Linked DNA regions of Homo sapiens: region 1 is linked to region 2. The links are contacts of gene promoters, found by promoter capture Hi-C in blood cells and fetal thymus (Javierre and others, 2016). All regions are on one chromosome and are shown on one strand. The core of a region is centred on a gene start or on the middle of the fragment in contact, and the rest is flanking DNA. Distances in the headings are between cores, read along the strand shown. Region 1 overlaps LOC105375118 (a long non-coding RNA gene). Region 2 holds the start of ADAP1 (ArfGAP with dual PH domains 1).

The links. Contacts are between HindIII fragments. The CHiCAGO score rates a contact against its expected background, and 5 or more counts as called.
Region 1: a fragment that was not itself captured here is called in contact with the fragment with the promoter of ADAP1 in region 2 in 1 of 17 cell types (naive B cells); the score reaches 5.7 in naive B cells.

Annotation. Positions count from the first base shown.
Region 1 is chr7:324,532-331,797 of GRCh38, forward strand. LOC105375118 (a long non-coding RNA gene) reads right to left here. Exons shown (of 3, transcript XR_926965.4): 3 at 5,096-6,832. Among named protein-coding and RNA genes, the nearest start is that of FOXL3-OT1, 37 kb to the left of the region's middle. The HindIII fragment of the contact is 3,993 bases long and covers 2,379-6,371 here.
Region 2 is chr7:950,495-957,959 of GRCh38, forward strand. ADAP1 (ArfGAP with dual PH domains 1) reads right to left here and starts at 4,186. Exons shown (of 11, transcript NM_006869.4): 1 at 3,902-4,186. The coding sequence starts at 3,983. LOC124901569 (a long non-coding RNA gene) reads left to right here and starts at 4,360. Exons shown (of 2, transcript XR_007060178.1): 1 at 4,360-4,770; 2 at 4,874-4,996. RefSeq lists enhancers at 2,636-3,247, 4,470-5,079 and silencers at 3,373-3,582, 3,873-4,362, 4,382-4,537, 4,393-4,492. The HindIII fragment of the contact is 7,508 bases long and covers 2,368-7,465 here.

The sequences.
Region 1 (7,266 bases), core at 3,125-5,624, 630 kb before region 2:
GAATTCAAAGCACATTATATAGAAAATAAGGAATGGGCCGGGCACGGTGGCTCACGCCTGTAATCCCGACACTTTGGGAGGCCAAGGAGGGTGGATCACTTGAGGTCAGGAGTTCAAGACCAGCCTGGCCAACATGGCGAAACCCCATCTCTACTAAAATTACAAAAATTAGCCGGGTGTGGTGATGGGCACCTGCAGTCCCAGCTACTTGGAGGCTGAGGCAGGAGAATTGCTTGAACTCAGGAGGCGGAGGTTGCAGTGAGCCGAGATCGCGCCACTGCACTCCAGCCTGGGAGACAGAGCGAGATTCTGTCTCAAAAAAAAAAAAAAAAAAAAAAAACAAGGAGCACCGAAGTGGATTTACAGATGATGTAATGATCGACGGCATTCCACCAGACAAGGTTAACTTGCATTTTTACGGACACGCATCATTTGTATTATTGTATTATTGTCAGGTTTCTGCAAAAGAGCGTGAAAGGCCGCAAGACCCCGGAAGGGTGCGGGAGACGGGACACACAATCCTTTTTGCCCATTTCAAAGTCTTAAAATTTTCCCGACACAGGCAAAACTGCCTACTTACCCACCATTGTCCCAAACACTAAAGGTCGCAAGCCAAGTCGGTCCTTACCTCCCCCGTCCCGCCAGTCAGCCCCATGACCGTCTCCGCAGGTGTCTGGGTCTTCACCCATCTCCTCTCCGAGTATGAGCCTCTGGTCTGCCCAGAAGCTGCCACCCGCCACCTCCCTGTCCCTCAAGGGTGTCATGTGGGAGTGGGTTCCACAGGCCCAGGTTCAAATCCTTTACTGGCTGTGTCATCTTGAAACCTGTGGTTCTGTGTCTCAGTCTCCACATTTGAAAATGGGAGTGGCATTGGCAGCCACCTGCCCACCCTTCTCCTTCCACGATGGAGGGAGACGTTGCTGCCGAGTGGTTGTGAGGACGGCGTGAGTCCACAGTGTGGGGTAGAGCAGACGGCTTCCAGTGCCCCACCCAGCCCCTCTCCCTTCACCCACTGTCTCTGCCCCACACACCTCCTGGCCCCAGCCCCCACACCCCACCTCCCCCCTCTCCAGCTGCATAGACCTCCCTCCCTCCAGCCGAAAGCATTCCTAGCTCCTGATCATCTTAAAAATAAAACCTGAATGCCTTGTGCAGGGGCAAGCTCCCTTCCATCCGGCCCTGAGTTCCAGCTCTGGCTCCACTGTTCAAGCGTCCGTCCCCCACCCATCCGTCTCTGTGTGCTTGGGCCAAGCTGCCCACAACCCCTCTTCCAAAGGAGCCGTGATTCCCTCACATTCGTCACACAGTCCTCTCCCCTGGCCGTGTGCTCACACAGTCCTCTCCCCTGGCCGTGTTCTCACATAGCCCAGGCATCCAATCAGGGTGCTCCTCATGCAGACTGCAGGGACAGACACATCCTCTCTCCTGGGCAGGGTGGGATATGCGATGTGAAGCCTGGCACTGCAGCAGCTATTTTGTGCCCATGAGGAAGAGCTGGCTTTGGAATAAGGCCAACTATGCAGAGGGCAGAGATGGAAAGAAATTGAGGCCGTGACAGCCTCGTTGAGCCGCTGGGTCAAGCCAAGCCTGAACGCCACCTGCCTCCAGACCTCCCGGCATCAGTCCGTTCCCTCTCAGTGAAGGCAGTTGATTTGTCTTTTCTGTTCCATGCAGCCCATTGCTTCCTAACTCATTTCTTCCCCTCATCTGCACCTGTAGCTGGTTTCTGTCCTTGTGCTGTTTTCCTGGATACCCCAGGCACTGCGTGGCCTGCTGTCTGTGTGTCCAGCCCACTCACTCCCTGTCCTTCCCACCAGCTAGCTGGCACTTATGGCCAAGTTTCCAGAGACCCACAGAGGTGGCCACTGCTCAGAAACAAGGCTTGTTCCTGGGGCGGTTGAGACAGAGATGGGCGCTGGTCCCCGTGTGAAGCTGTGGATACACCAGTGGGCAGCTGTCATGTTCAGACCCAGGACCCAGTACCCGGCGTGGCCGCCCTGGCTGTCGTCACGGCTTCTTTTAAGGGGGCAGAGCAGATTGGCACAGATGTCAGGGGCCCATGCATGTCCCTTGGCCTGGGGGACTTAGAAGTTTTCTCTGTATTTGGTTTCCCCTCTCTCAGCACTTTCTAATATACAGACTAAAACCCCAACTCACTGGGAGGCCAGGATATCAACGGGCTGGAGATTTATGAGGGAAGAGCCGGGTCCCACCAGCAGGCACTAATAGCTCCCTAATTCCTGTCATTAGTTAACGAGAGCCCCTAGGTTCTCTCTACACAGCAGCTCGAATGTAATTACCAGCTGGGAGTGCTGGGCACACAGGCCTTGTGTCCTGTGTTTTGCAAAATTCCCTGAAATGCACTTCATGATTCTGGAAGCTTCAGTCGGCTTGCAATTACAAGTAGCCCTTATTAAAAATCCATGCAGCCTCCCACATCAAACAAAATTAATCAGTAACAAGCTGTAAGGCTATTAGGTCATTTCCCAACACAGAGCAACTCAGGAGTGGCCCTATCTGATTGGCCCATGCACGGAGGCAGGAATTCTCCCATGTTTCTCTGAATGCCGTGAGCCTGACATGAGATGTTTGTCTTTGCTTGAATTACGTTTGGGTGTTATTCTGCTGAATCTATTCCCATTGGCCTGGCAGGCTCACTTTGCAGCGCACACACCACCAAGATGGTCATCTCATTTTGGCCAAGAGCATGAGGAAACATGTGGTCCCTGTTAGGGGAGGACCTCAGGTGTGGCCCTCCTCACCTCAGCCAGGGGGCCGAGCAGGAGCTGTGAGACAGGGTCCTGCCCAGTCTCCCCGCACCCACCTTGCCCTTTGCATGCAGCTCTGGCGCACAGGCAGCCAGGATGAGTCCTTTCAGCAGGCGCTTTGAATCTCATAGCCACTGTCCTTCCCGTCCACCTGGCCCATCCCGGCCCGCCAGGCACCTGCACTGTCGGGTCTCTGCCGGCCTCTATGCCTGGCTCTTCACTCTGCCCACTGGCTGCCCCATGGTGGCCACAGCGACATCTCCCAGCCCAGCCAGGGGCTCTTCTTATGAGAGACTGATAGGAAGGTGGGGTCCAGGCCCCTGCCCTGGCCTCCAGGGTGGGCTTGTGGCAACGGCAGAAACCATCTGCGTGACTTGTGGGGTCTGAAGTCACGGGAGGCGTCGGTGTCAGCCTGGTCTCTGGGAACAGGCACGTGCAACCCCGAGCTGTCCAGTTAGCCGTCTGGATGCTCCGAGGCCACCGTGCTGTGAAACTATCGCACGTGGAGAAGCCCTGAGACCATGGGGAGAGAGAGAGATGCCCGCCTGCCCGCCACGGCTCCCAGGCAGAGCCTTGGCTCATTCTAATCTCTCTGCCTGGACCTCTCCTCCCCGCTGTCTCCACGCGGCCGGCCCCTTTGCATTCTTCACCTCTCTGCTCAGATGCCACCTCCCCTTCATATCACCCTCTGTGAGGGAAACGCCGGCCCCATGGTCCCCCACAACTCCCTCCCTCAATGTCCCGTTCATTCCCTCTTGTGGGGTGATGCTGGTCACAATTCACGCTCCCATATTCACTTGCTGACTTGGGTATTGTCTGCTTCCCCAGCCAGAACATGGTTTCCCACACCTGCCTGGTTCTCTGTTGCTTGCCCGGGGTGCCTGGTACGCAGGACACGCTCAGGATCATGGCCCACTGCCCCGCTGCCCGGACAGGTGCGTAGAGGGATGGTGGCCATTCCCCTCCGCCTCTGTTTCTGTTGAAGACTCTCCTACCCAAGGTTTTACCCTTGAAGGAAATCTTTGCCACTTCGTTGGGCCAGTAAAATGTCATTTTTTTTTAAGTACTGGAGAGGAGGGTATGTTTTTCCTGTGTTCATCGTGGGTGTTCCTTTTTTCTCTTAGAAATTGCTTGGCCAGTCCTCTGCCCATGTTCCTGTCGGCCACAGTCCCCTTTCAACCCACCCTGCTGCCACCCGGAAGGCCTGAACGCCAGCGCCCGTGATGACCTCGGTGCCTGCCCCTCACCTGGGGCCGCCCACCTGTCCCCACCCAGGCTGTGTCTTTGTGTCTCTCTATGTCTTTTTCAATCAATTTTGAACAACTTAAAAGCGAGGATTGATTGAATCTTCTACTCTCTTGTCCCTGCAACACCCAACATGGCAGCTTCATTCCGACAATATTGTGAGGACGATATAGAGGCTCAGTAAGCACTTGCTATTTGCTCGGTTGGTTGGTTAACTTCGTTTAGTTTCCCGTAGCTCTGGCCTCAGTTAGCAAAGTTAATGACATTAAATAGCATATTTTAGCAGTAGCAAAAACAACAAACTTCTAGGAATAAGCCTAATAAGAAATATGCAGGACATCGGTCGGGCGTGGTGGCTCACACCTGTAGTCCCAGCACTTTGTGAGGTCGAGGCAGGCGGATCACCTGAGGTCAGGAGTTCAAGACCAACCTGGCCAACATGGTGAAACCCCATCTCTACTAAAAATACAAAAATCATCCGGGCGTGGTGGCATGCGCCTGTAATCCCAGCTACTGGGGAGACTGAGGCAGGAGAATCACTTGAATGAGGGAGGTGGAGGTTGCAGTGAGCCGAGGTTGTGCCACTGCACTCCAGCCTTGGAGACAGAGTGAGACTCCATCTAAAAAAAAAGAAAGAAAGAAAAGAAATATGCAAGACATACATTTAAAAATATTAAAATACTGCAAGCCAAAGTTAACAGATAGCCAACCAACTGAGGAAGAGGTATTAGCAACTCATACGGTAGACAAGATGCTACTTTCCCAAATACATTTAAAAAAACCCTCCTGAAAACAATGAGATAAAGACCAGCAAACTCATCAAAACATGAGTAAAGAACTTAAATGGGCAACTGGCTTTTTTTTTTTTTTTGACAGAGTCTCGCTCTGTCGCCCAGACTGGGGGGCAGTGGACCAATCTCGGCTCACTGCAAGCTCCACCTCCCGGGTTCACACCATTCTCCTGCCTCAGCCTCCCGAGTAGCTGGGACTACATGTTCCCGCCACCACGCCCGGCTAATATTTTGTATTTTTAGTAGAGACGGAGTTTCACCGTGTTAGCCAGGATGGTCTCAATCTCCCAACCTCGTGATCCACCCGTCTTGGCCTCCCAAAGTGCTGGGATTACAGGCGTGAGCCACAGCGCCGGCCGGCAACTGGCATTTTAACACATAGAAAGACACCCAACCACACTGGTAACAAGGAAACACAAATTGAAACTAAATGGAGGTTCCATTTTATGACGGGTCAGACTGGCAAAAAGCAAAATGCCAGGCAACCCTCAATGTTGACAGACTTGTGGGGAAGCAGGCGCTCTCGTACATAGCTGATGAAAGGACAAGTTAGCACAACGTTTATGGCCACGAAGTTGGCAACATCAATAAAAATGTAAATGCATCTGCCCTTTGGCCCGGCAATTCTGCTTATCCTATAGATACCATTGCGCACAGGTGAGGCCGTCTATGTGTGAAATTACTCACTGCAGCATTATTTACAATGGCCTAAAAGCCCGTTGATAAGAGGTTGTTATATAAATCATAATAGATCCATAAAGTGAAACACAACTGTAAGAAAAACGAGGAGGCTGGGCACAGTGGCTCACACCTGCAATCCCAGCACTTCGGGAGGCCTAGGCGGAACGCTGGGCAACATGACGAGACACCGTCTCTACAAAAATAAATTAACCGGGCATGGTGGTGTACACCTGTGCTCCCAGATACTCAAGAGGCTGAGGCGGCAGGATGGCTTCAGCCCAGGACGTTGAGGCTGCAGTGAGCTGTGACCGCATCACTGCACTCCAGCCTGGGCAAAAGAGAAAGACCCTGTCAAAAAACAAAAAAATAAAAAGGAGTCCACTTTTGGCTTCCATCAACCAGGTTGGAGAAAACAAATGACCACATGTGTCTCAATGTGTCAGAGAGTTACCAAGGCAGCCAGGACCTGAAGGCCCAAGACATTGTGGGGGAGGGAAACGCGTTGAGGTGACCCGAACTTCTGCACCCTTTGGGGCAACCGCAAACTCATAACTGGCATGAGCAGAGATGCTGAGAAGCTGAGCAGGGAGGTCTGCTGAGAATCCGAGAAGCTCAGAGGAGCTTTCAACACTGTCGTGCCAGCAGGAAGACGAGAATCAGAGTGCAGGACTGCTCACACAGCCAGGGCTTGGAGAGACAAGATCCCGGGGAGAGGAAAGGATCCCAACAGTCCAGGGTGTCTGTTTGCAAGCAGCACAGGGTGAGCGCAGAGGGGCTGAGCAGAGGCTGCTAGGAATCTAAGCAGAACTGCGGGAGCCCTGCAGTGCCGGAGAGGGAAAGACGGGCTCAGACCTGTCATGCCAGAGGATCCCTCGGAAGCACCTGAAGCTTTCATATGGACCCCTGAAGGACAACCTCTCCTCTCAACTCTAGATTTAAATCCAAGAGGTTTCTTGAGCTTGAAGTCCAGCAGGCATCTCAGCCAGGACATGCTCAGAACAAACTCCCCATTGTCCTCCCTGCACTGCCCTTCCCCACTCCCCACTGGGTCAGCGTGGCCTCATCCCTCTAGCTAGTTAGGCGAGACCCTGGGCTCAGCCCAGACTCTCCTTTCCTCTCATCCCCACGCTGAATCTGTCAGCAACTCTTGTTGGCTTCACCTTCAAAACATACCTGGAATCAGACCCCTTCTCCCCACTTCAGCACCATCCTTTGGCCCAAGCAACCATGTCCTCTCCCCCGTCCCCCGGCACTAGTACCCAAGCCACCATTTCCTTCTTTCTGCATTGGTATAATAGCTGTCCGGCTGGTATCTCAACATCCACTTGGTCCCGAGAGACACACCACCTGCAAAAGTAAAATCATTGTGCTGACACTGACAGCAAAGCCCAAAACCCTTAGAGTGACCCACAGGATCCAACCTTAGAGTGACCCACAAGATCCTATATTATATCCTCTCTCAACTGTTTTTAATGAAACTTTTATTTTAGATTTTATGTTTAGATTTTTTTTTTTTTTTGAGACGAAATTTCACTCTTGTCACCCAGGCTGGAGTGCAATGGCTCAATCTAGGCTCACTGCAACCTCCACCTCCTAGGTTCAAGCAATTCTCCTGCCTCAGCCTCCCGAGTAGCTGGGATTACAGGTGCCTGCCACCATGCCCAACTAATTTTTTTTGTATTTTTAGTAGAGACGGGGTTTCACCATCTTGGCCAGGCTGGTCTTGAACTCTTGACCTCAAGTGATCCACCGGATTTTATGTTTAGATTTACAGCAAACTT
Region 2 (7,465 bases), core at 2,936-5,435:
AAAAAAAAAAAATGAATACCGCATGGTTTCACTTCTACAAGGTCCCTGGAGTCATAAGATTCATAGAGACAGAAAGTTGAGGCCAGGCACGGTGGCTCATGCCTGTAATCCCAGCCATTTGGGAGGCCAAGTTGGGAGGATGACCTGAGGTCAGGAGTTCAAGACCAGCCTGGCCAACATGGCGAAACCCTGTCTCTACCAAAAATACAAAAATTAGCCGGGCGTGGTGGCAGGCGCCTGTAATCCCAGCTACTCAGGGGACTGAGGCAGGAGAATCGTTTGAACCCAGGAGGCAGAGGTTGCAGTGAGCTGAAATGGCGCCACTGCATTCCAGCCTTGGGAACAGAGCAAGACTCCGTCTCAAAAAAAAAAAAAAAAAAAAAACAAGAAAAGAACAGAAAGTAGAAGGGTGGGTGCCCCGGACTGGGGAGAGGAAATCTGGAGCCCTTGTTGAATGGGGACAGAGCTTCAGTTTGGGAAGATGAGGAGGTTCTGGAGATGATGGTGGTGGCGGTGGCACGGTGAGTGAACGTGCTCAAGGCCCTGGAACTGTGCACTCGAAACGATGAGAAGGTAAATTATTATTTTTAAAAAATCCGGCCAGGCGCGGTGGCTCATGCCTGGAATCCCAGCACTTTGGGAGGCCGAGGCGGGTGGATCACGAGGTCAGGAGACGGAGACCATCCTGGCTAACATGGTGAAACCCCATCTCTACTAAAAATACAAAAATTAGCCGGGCGTGGTGGCGGGTGCCTGTAGTCCCAGCTACTCGGGAGGCTGAGGCAGGAGAATGGTGTGAACCTGGGAGGGGGAGCTTGCAGTGAGCCGAGATCGCACCACTGCAGTCCAGCCTGGGCGACAGAGCGAGACTCCGTCTCAAAAAAAAAAAAAAATATCCAACCTAGTTGGGCCGCTGCCCTGGGGAGTGAAGGGAGTCTGCCCAGCCCCCGCCCACACTCAGCAGCCTTCTTCCCACCCTCACCCATGCCGGCCAAATTCCTGAAACTGGGAGTTGGAGGTTGCAGTGAGCAAAGATCGTGCCACTGCACTGTAGCCTGGGTGACATCGAGAGACTGTCTTAAAAAAAAAAATTAGCTGGGCATGGTGGCATGGACCTGTAGTCCCAGCTACTCAGGAGGCTGAGGTGGGAGGATTGCTTGAGCCCTGGAGGCAGAGGCTGCAGTGAGTTGAGATTGTGCCACTGCACTCCAGCCTGGGTGACAGAGCGAGACCTTAAAATAAAAAAGAACAAAAGAGCTCAGACACCCCAGTCCTTCCGGGGCATCAGATGGCCTGAGACTCAAAGAGGACAATATGTGTGTTTTTCTTTTTTTTGAGACAGGGTCTCACTCTGGCCTAGGCTGGAGTGTGATCACGACTCACTGCAGCTTCCAACTCCTGGCCTCAAGCGATCCTCCGGCCTCGGCCTCCCAAAGCACTGGGATGACAGGCGTGAGCCACCGCGCCCGGTCCCTGTCCTCTGTTGCGATTTGGCAGGCAGCTCCAAGGATGTACGGAGGCACCCCTCCCTCCCCCAAACCCCCTCCCAGGATGGAGACCCCCACCCAGGTCTTGCAGGACAGTGGGTCCAGGCACGCCCCAACTCGCCCACCTGCCAGGCCTGTGATGAGAGGCTCTCTGGGTGGCCGCCGGGCGAGGCCCCCTGTTCAAGGTCAGGGGAACCCACTATTGGGACAGGTCATGGGGAGAGTTTGGAAGGAGCTTCTGTGGGGGCCGCAGAGACCCCAAGACTGCTTCCCTCACACGGCCAGTGGGTGGGGCCTGCTCAAGTCCACCCCAGCAGCCCCAGGCCTGGCGTTCAGAGGTGGTCTGGGACTGTCTGATGTCCTGCTGTCCAGGTCTGCACCAGCCGTGAGCCAGTGCACAGGACAGTGTTCTGAGGACAGCAGAACGTGCCGGCCACCCCAGCCCCCATCAACACTGGAGTGGCTCCTTGTCACCCAGCTGGGCCACAGCAGGTACAGGAGGCCCCAGAGCAGCTGGCATCAGCAAAGAAGCATAGAGCCCTCGAGGATGTGCCATGGGGTCATGGGGGGCTAGGCAGCCCCCTGCCTCCTGACACCGCCTGTTCCACCCTGTGGCCACAGCCCTGGGGAGCGGGGACAAGCAGAGCGGCCGGGTGTGGCTCATGTCCCCTAAGACAGCTCCCTTTGCAAGGCATCAGTCTCCCTGGCTGTGAAATGAGAGTGACCCCTCACAGCATCCCCCCTCCATGGCGCTACCCGACAGAGGAGACAAGTCACTGAGGTCATGGACAGATTCTGAAAAGGCAGAGGTGCGGCCCTCTACCCGGCAGCGTGGGGCATAGGGACGGCAGAGAACAGCTCTGGGGTGGGCCAGGCTGGAAGCTTAGCAGGTGGGCCGGGCACACCTGCACCCACTGGGAGGGGAGGACCACTGAAGGACCCAGCAGGCCAAGGAAGTCCCCTCTTCCTCCTGCCAGGCTGGGAGGCCCAGAGGGTGGCTGGAGAGGGGCCCTGAGTCCAGAGAAGCTGCTCCCAGGCTGTGTGGCCAGGGAGCAGAGGTTCAGAGGCAAGCCCAGCTCCCCTCCCCGTGGGCCACAGCAACCCCAGGCCAGGCCCTTTCCCACTGGCTTTCCTGGGGAGCGTTCCTGAACAGGAGGAAATAAAGGTCTGTGGGGAGAGAGTCTGGGGTGAGCCAGCCCAGGGGGCCACCCCCACCGCACCATTGCACGGGCCCTGTGGCCGTCCTGTCTCAGGAGACCATGGAAAGGCCGTGGGTCCTGCCTGTCTTTCCAGAAAAGCCTGTCGCTATCTCCCCTCTGGGACACCCCAGCTCCTGATGTGGCCTTTCCAGCCAAGCTGCAGCTGGACAGCAGCCACCACGACCTGGGGCTGGCAGAGACCCCTCCATCCCAGAGGGAATCAGGGACACCCCTTTTTCCGGGGTGTCCAGAGGCTGCATATTGAACCAGGGCCTTGGAGGCAAATGCAAGGTCTTCCCCCGCTCCCTCCCTGGGGGCCTCAGTCACCGCCGGTGAGTTTAGGTTTGTTCCGAGGGGCTTAGACTATTGGCCCCCAGATTCCTGGTGTGCCTGGGGTGGCGGGACTGCTCCGGCGGGGCCCTCTCTCCACAGCGCAGCCGGCCTGGGGCTGACAGCTCCCGAGCAGGGCAGGGCTGGTCTGGGCACTGGGCCCCGTTCACAGCCAATGACAGGACCAGTGGCCTGGAAGGGAGGGACTCCGCGCCTTTGGACTCCAGTGCCTTGAAATCCCACAGACCTGGGAACCGAGTCAGGGATGCCCGGCCGGGAGAACGAACGGGCGGGCGGCGGGTGGACCAGGACCTGCGTCCGGCCCCACCTCTCCCAGGCCTCACCTGTCCTGGCGCCCGCCCCGGAGCAGCCAGGTGCAGGGAGCCGGGGGCAGGGGCGCCGCTCACACCCAGGGACCCCCGGTGCGGGAAGGGCGTGAGGCATGACGTCACCGCGAGGTGGCCCCGGAGCCGGCGGACCCCACAGCCCAGCAGAGACCTCCGGCTGGCGGCCCGTTCCCTCCCTGCAGCCAGCCCCGATTTCCTCTTTCTGTGCGGAGCCCGAGCTTTCGCAACGCGGCGGGCGGTCCGCGGTGACCGTCAGACACGCAGCCCGGCGGGGGAGGGGAGGCGGCGGCAGGGGGGTTTCCGGGGGTCCTGGGGGGGGCCCCCCCGCTGCGCCCGGCCCGGGAAGACGTCCGGGTCCCCGCAGGTGCAGCCGGGCCCGGGCCCCATCCGAGCGCCGATCCGGCCCGGTGTTCAGCGCCGCCACCCCCGCGGCGTCCGCGCTCCCCCGCCCGGTCCCCGGGGCCCACCCAGGACCCGCCCGGCACCCCGCGCCCACCCCGGACCCACCCGGCCCCGCGCCCACCCGGCCCACACCTACCCGGGGCGCCGCAGTCCGCGCAGCGCGCGTTCCCCGGCCGCTGCAGCAGCTCCAGGACCGCCCTGCGCCGCTCCTTGGCCATGGCCGCGATGCGCCCGCGATGCCGATGCCGGGGCCGGGGCCGGGAGCGTCAGCCCGGCTCGCTAGGGCCCCGCGCAGGCCGCCCGCCGCCGCCGCCCCTGCGCCATCCCGGGCGGCCTCAGCCCGCGCGCCGGTTCCGCATTCCCGCCGCCCTCTGGGCTCCGCCGCCGCCGCTCGTGTCTCCGCCGCGGTCGCTGAGCGAGTGCCGGCGCGGGGCCCGGGGCGCACGCTGCGCTCTGGCCGGCAAGGCCCGCGGGCGGCCCCCAGCGGTGCAGGCGAGCGTGTGGCCTCCTCCCTCGGCCGCTCCGGCGCCCCCAGCCCGCGCGCCCCGGGGACCCGCTGGGAAATCGCCCGCCGCCCGCCCCCCATCCGCGCGCAGCGTCCCACCTGCCTGGGCGCGAGGCCGCCCCAAAACCTGGCCGGCCTGGGTGGGACCCTCGTGCCGCCGCGCGCGGTGGGACGGAGCCTGCACACCTACTGTGGGGGGCGCAGAGGGCACCTGCCGAGCCCCCCAAGACCATGGGCATGGGGGTGCTCGTGGAAGGCAGGTGTGCGTGTCCTGTGCTACGGACCAGGACCAGGGCGCTCACACCATCCCTGCCTGGGAGGGACGGCCAGCAGGTGACAAACGCCAGCGTCCCAGGGCACTGAGGCCACACAGGGCCCAGACGGAGCCTCCCCCTGAGACCCACCCAGCCGCCCACCACCCACAGATGGGACCCTCTGGGCACCCCTCCCACTCAGGCAGGCTGAGGGGCCCCGCCGGGACTTCACATGGGGGCTGACAGGTAACAAAAAACCTGGTTTTGATGTCACCTCTTCCCAGACTCGCGTGCCCTTCCTCTGCACACCCCAGCATCTTTTCAAATTCTTTCCATTTTCTTCTTGCAGGGTTAATGCAGTACACCCGGCTGAAAACAAACTGGAACATACCAGACTGAAAAAGGAAAGCCTCTCCCCACTGCCTTCCAGGCAACCACTGTTAACAAATTCCTCAGCACCTTCCAGAACGAACGTCTGAGGCCTGTAGCCTTTCATTTATTTATTCATTTATCGAGACAGGGTTTTGGCTAACGGCTGTAATCCCAGCACTTTGGGAGACCCTGGCGGGTGGATCACTTGAGCTCAGGAGTTTGAGACCAGCCTGGGCAACATGGTGAAACCCCGTCTCTACTAAATACAAAGAAATTAGCCAGGCGTGGTGGCGCATGCCTGCAATCCCAGCTACTTGGGAGGCTGAGGCAGGAGAATCGCATGAACCTGGCAGGCAGAGGTTGCAGCGAGCCGAGATTGCGCCATTGCACTCCAGCCTGGGCAACAAGAGTGAAACTCCGTTTCAAAAAAAAAAAAAAAAAAAAAAAACCAAACAAACAAACTCAAAAAAAGTTCAACTGAACCATGACTTGTTCACCCAGTCACTGGCATAGGGGCATTTAGAGCGTTTTGAATGCATCAGAATCATGGTCTACACAACCTCATCTTTGCAAGAGTTTTGTGTGGATTTGCTCTCAAAGTGGCATCGCTGGGGCAATGGTATGGGATGTGGAATGGCCTCCACTGAGGCTGCACTGACCAGAGTGCCACCAAAGGCACCTGTCCCCCTGCTCCAGCTGACGTGGAATCATGGAGCTGCTTAAGCTCTGTCTACCTGAAGCAGAACGCGGCAGCCCGTTTTGGTCTGTGTCTCTGGGATCTGTGCCCTGTGGCATCACGTGCTCTTTCCCTGTAACCGTTCACATGGGTCTTTCTCCTCCCTCAGACGGGAGGCTTTGGGGTGGGGACAGGTGGCATTTTCATCTCTGGGTCCCTGTGCCAGGCTCGGAATCCACCACACAGCATGAGCTTGGAGAATGTCGCCTAATAAAGACAGACGAACATTAATAGCAGCAGCTCAGCACTAGGTATTAGGAGAAATAGCCTGACTTGTATTTTCTATTTTCTTTTCTTTTCTTTTCTTTTTTTCCTTTTTTTTTTTTTTTTTTTGAGACAGGGTTTTGGTCTATCGCCCAGGCTGGAGTGCAGTGGCACGATCTTAGCTCACTGCAACCTCTGCTTCCTGGGGTCAGGTGATTCTCCTGCCTCAGCCTCCTGAGTAGCTGGGACCACAAATGGGTGCCACCATGCCCAGGTATATTTTTATTTTTTGGTAGAGACAGGGTTTCACCATGTTGCCCAGGCTGGTCTCGAACACCTGACTTCACGTGATCTGCCTGCCTTAGCCTCTGAAAGTGCTGGGATTACAGGCCTGAGCCACCACGCCTGGCTTGACGTGTATTTTCTTTTTTCTTTTTTTTTTTTTTGAGACAGAGTCTTGCTCTGTCACCCAGGCTGGAGTGCAGTGGTGCGATCTCGGCTCACTGCAAGCTCCGCCTCCCGGGTTCACACCATTCTCCTGCCTCAGCCTCCCCAGCAGCTGGGACACAGGTGCATGCCACCACGCCCGGCTAATTTTTTTGTATTTTTAGTAGAGACGGGGTTTCACCGTGTTAGCCAGGATGCTCTCGATCTCCTGACCTCGTGATCCGCCTGCCTAGGCCTCCCAAAGTGCTGGTATTATGGGCGTGAGCCACCGCGACCGGCCGACATGTATTTTCTTATTAAAGCCCCATTTTCAGCTGGGAAGACTGAGGCACGGGGAGGTTCGATCCCTTGCTGGAGGCCACACACCTCAGGACTGGAATATACATAAAACAATATAACAAAGCAACACACCCTAACATAGCCGTTACCCAAGGTCCCCAAAGACGGGGAGGCCATCATACAAGGCATAGAAAAGGCAGCAGGGAGGCCTCAGGGGAGCCGGTGCCCAACAGGCCAGAGCTTCTGGCACAAGCCAAGGCCATCTACTGCCTGCTGTTCCGGGGCCTCCTCCGTGGGGCAGCTCCAGCAGGCGAGTGTCTTGCCTTCTCTGTCCTTCCATCCCGCTAAGGGAACTGTGGCATTGCTCGGGGGGCAGGAGGGCGTGAGGATGAGACAGAGGTGGGTGAACCCCTCAGATCTAAGAGATGTCGGGGCTGAGGGGGATTCTTCCAAAGAGGAGGCTGCTCGGCCGAGATCCGCAAGTACCTGCCTGGACCCGAGAGCACAGCCGTCCTGAAATCCTGCTGCCCTGACTGGCTGTGGTCAGGGCTGGGCGGGGCAGTAGGGGAGCCCAGGACTCAGGAAGAATCCGGAAGGTAACAGCATAGCTCAGGGTGGGCCAGACCCAGACCAGTGCTGGTCAAAGGCTGTTCCGGCCAGCAGCGGCTGGCGAGGGGCCTGGACAGGCGGCGTGCCTGCTCCTGCTCATGCCCAGTGGCCTACAAGCTCTGCTGAGCCTCCTGCCCCTTGTCACTGACCCGCACGGCTGCACCAGGGACCCTGACACTCATTCCTCAAGCATCTCCCTAGTCCAGAGCCAGAGGCAGCCGCCTCCTGTGACCACTCGGCCACACAGCAGACCCTGGGCAGGGGGCTCCCGAGAGCAGGGCGAGCTCCTCCAGC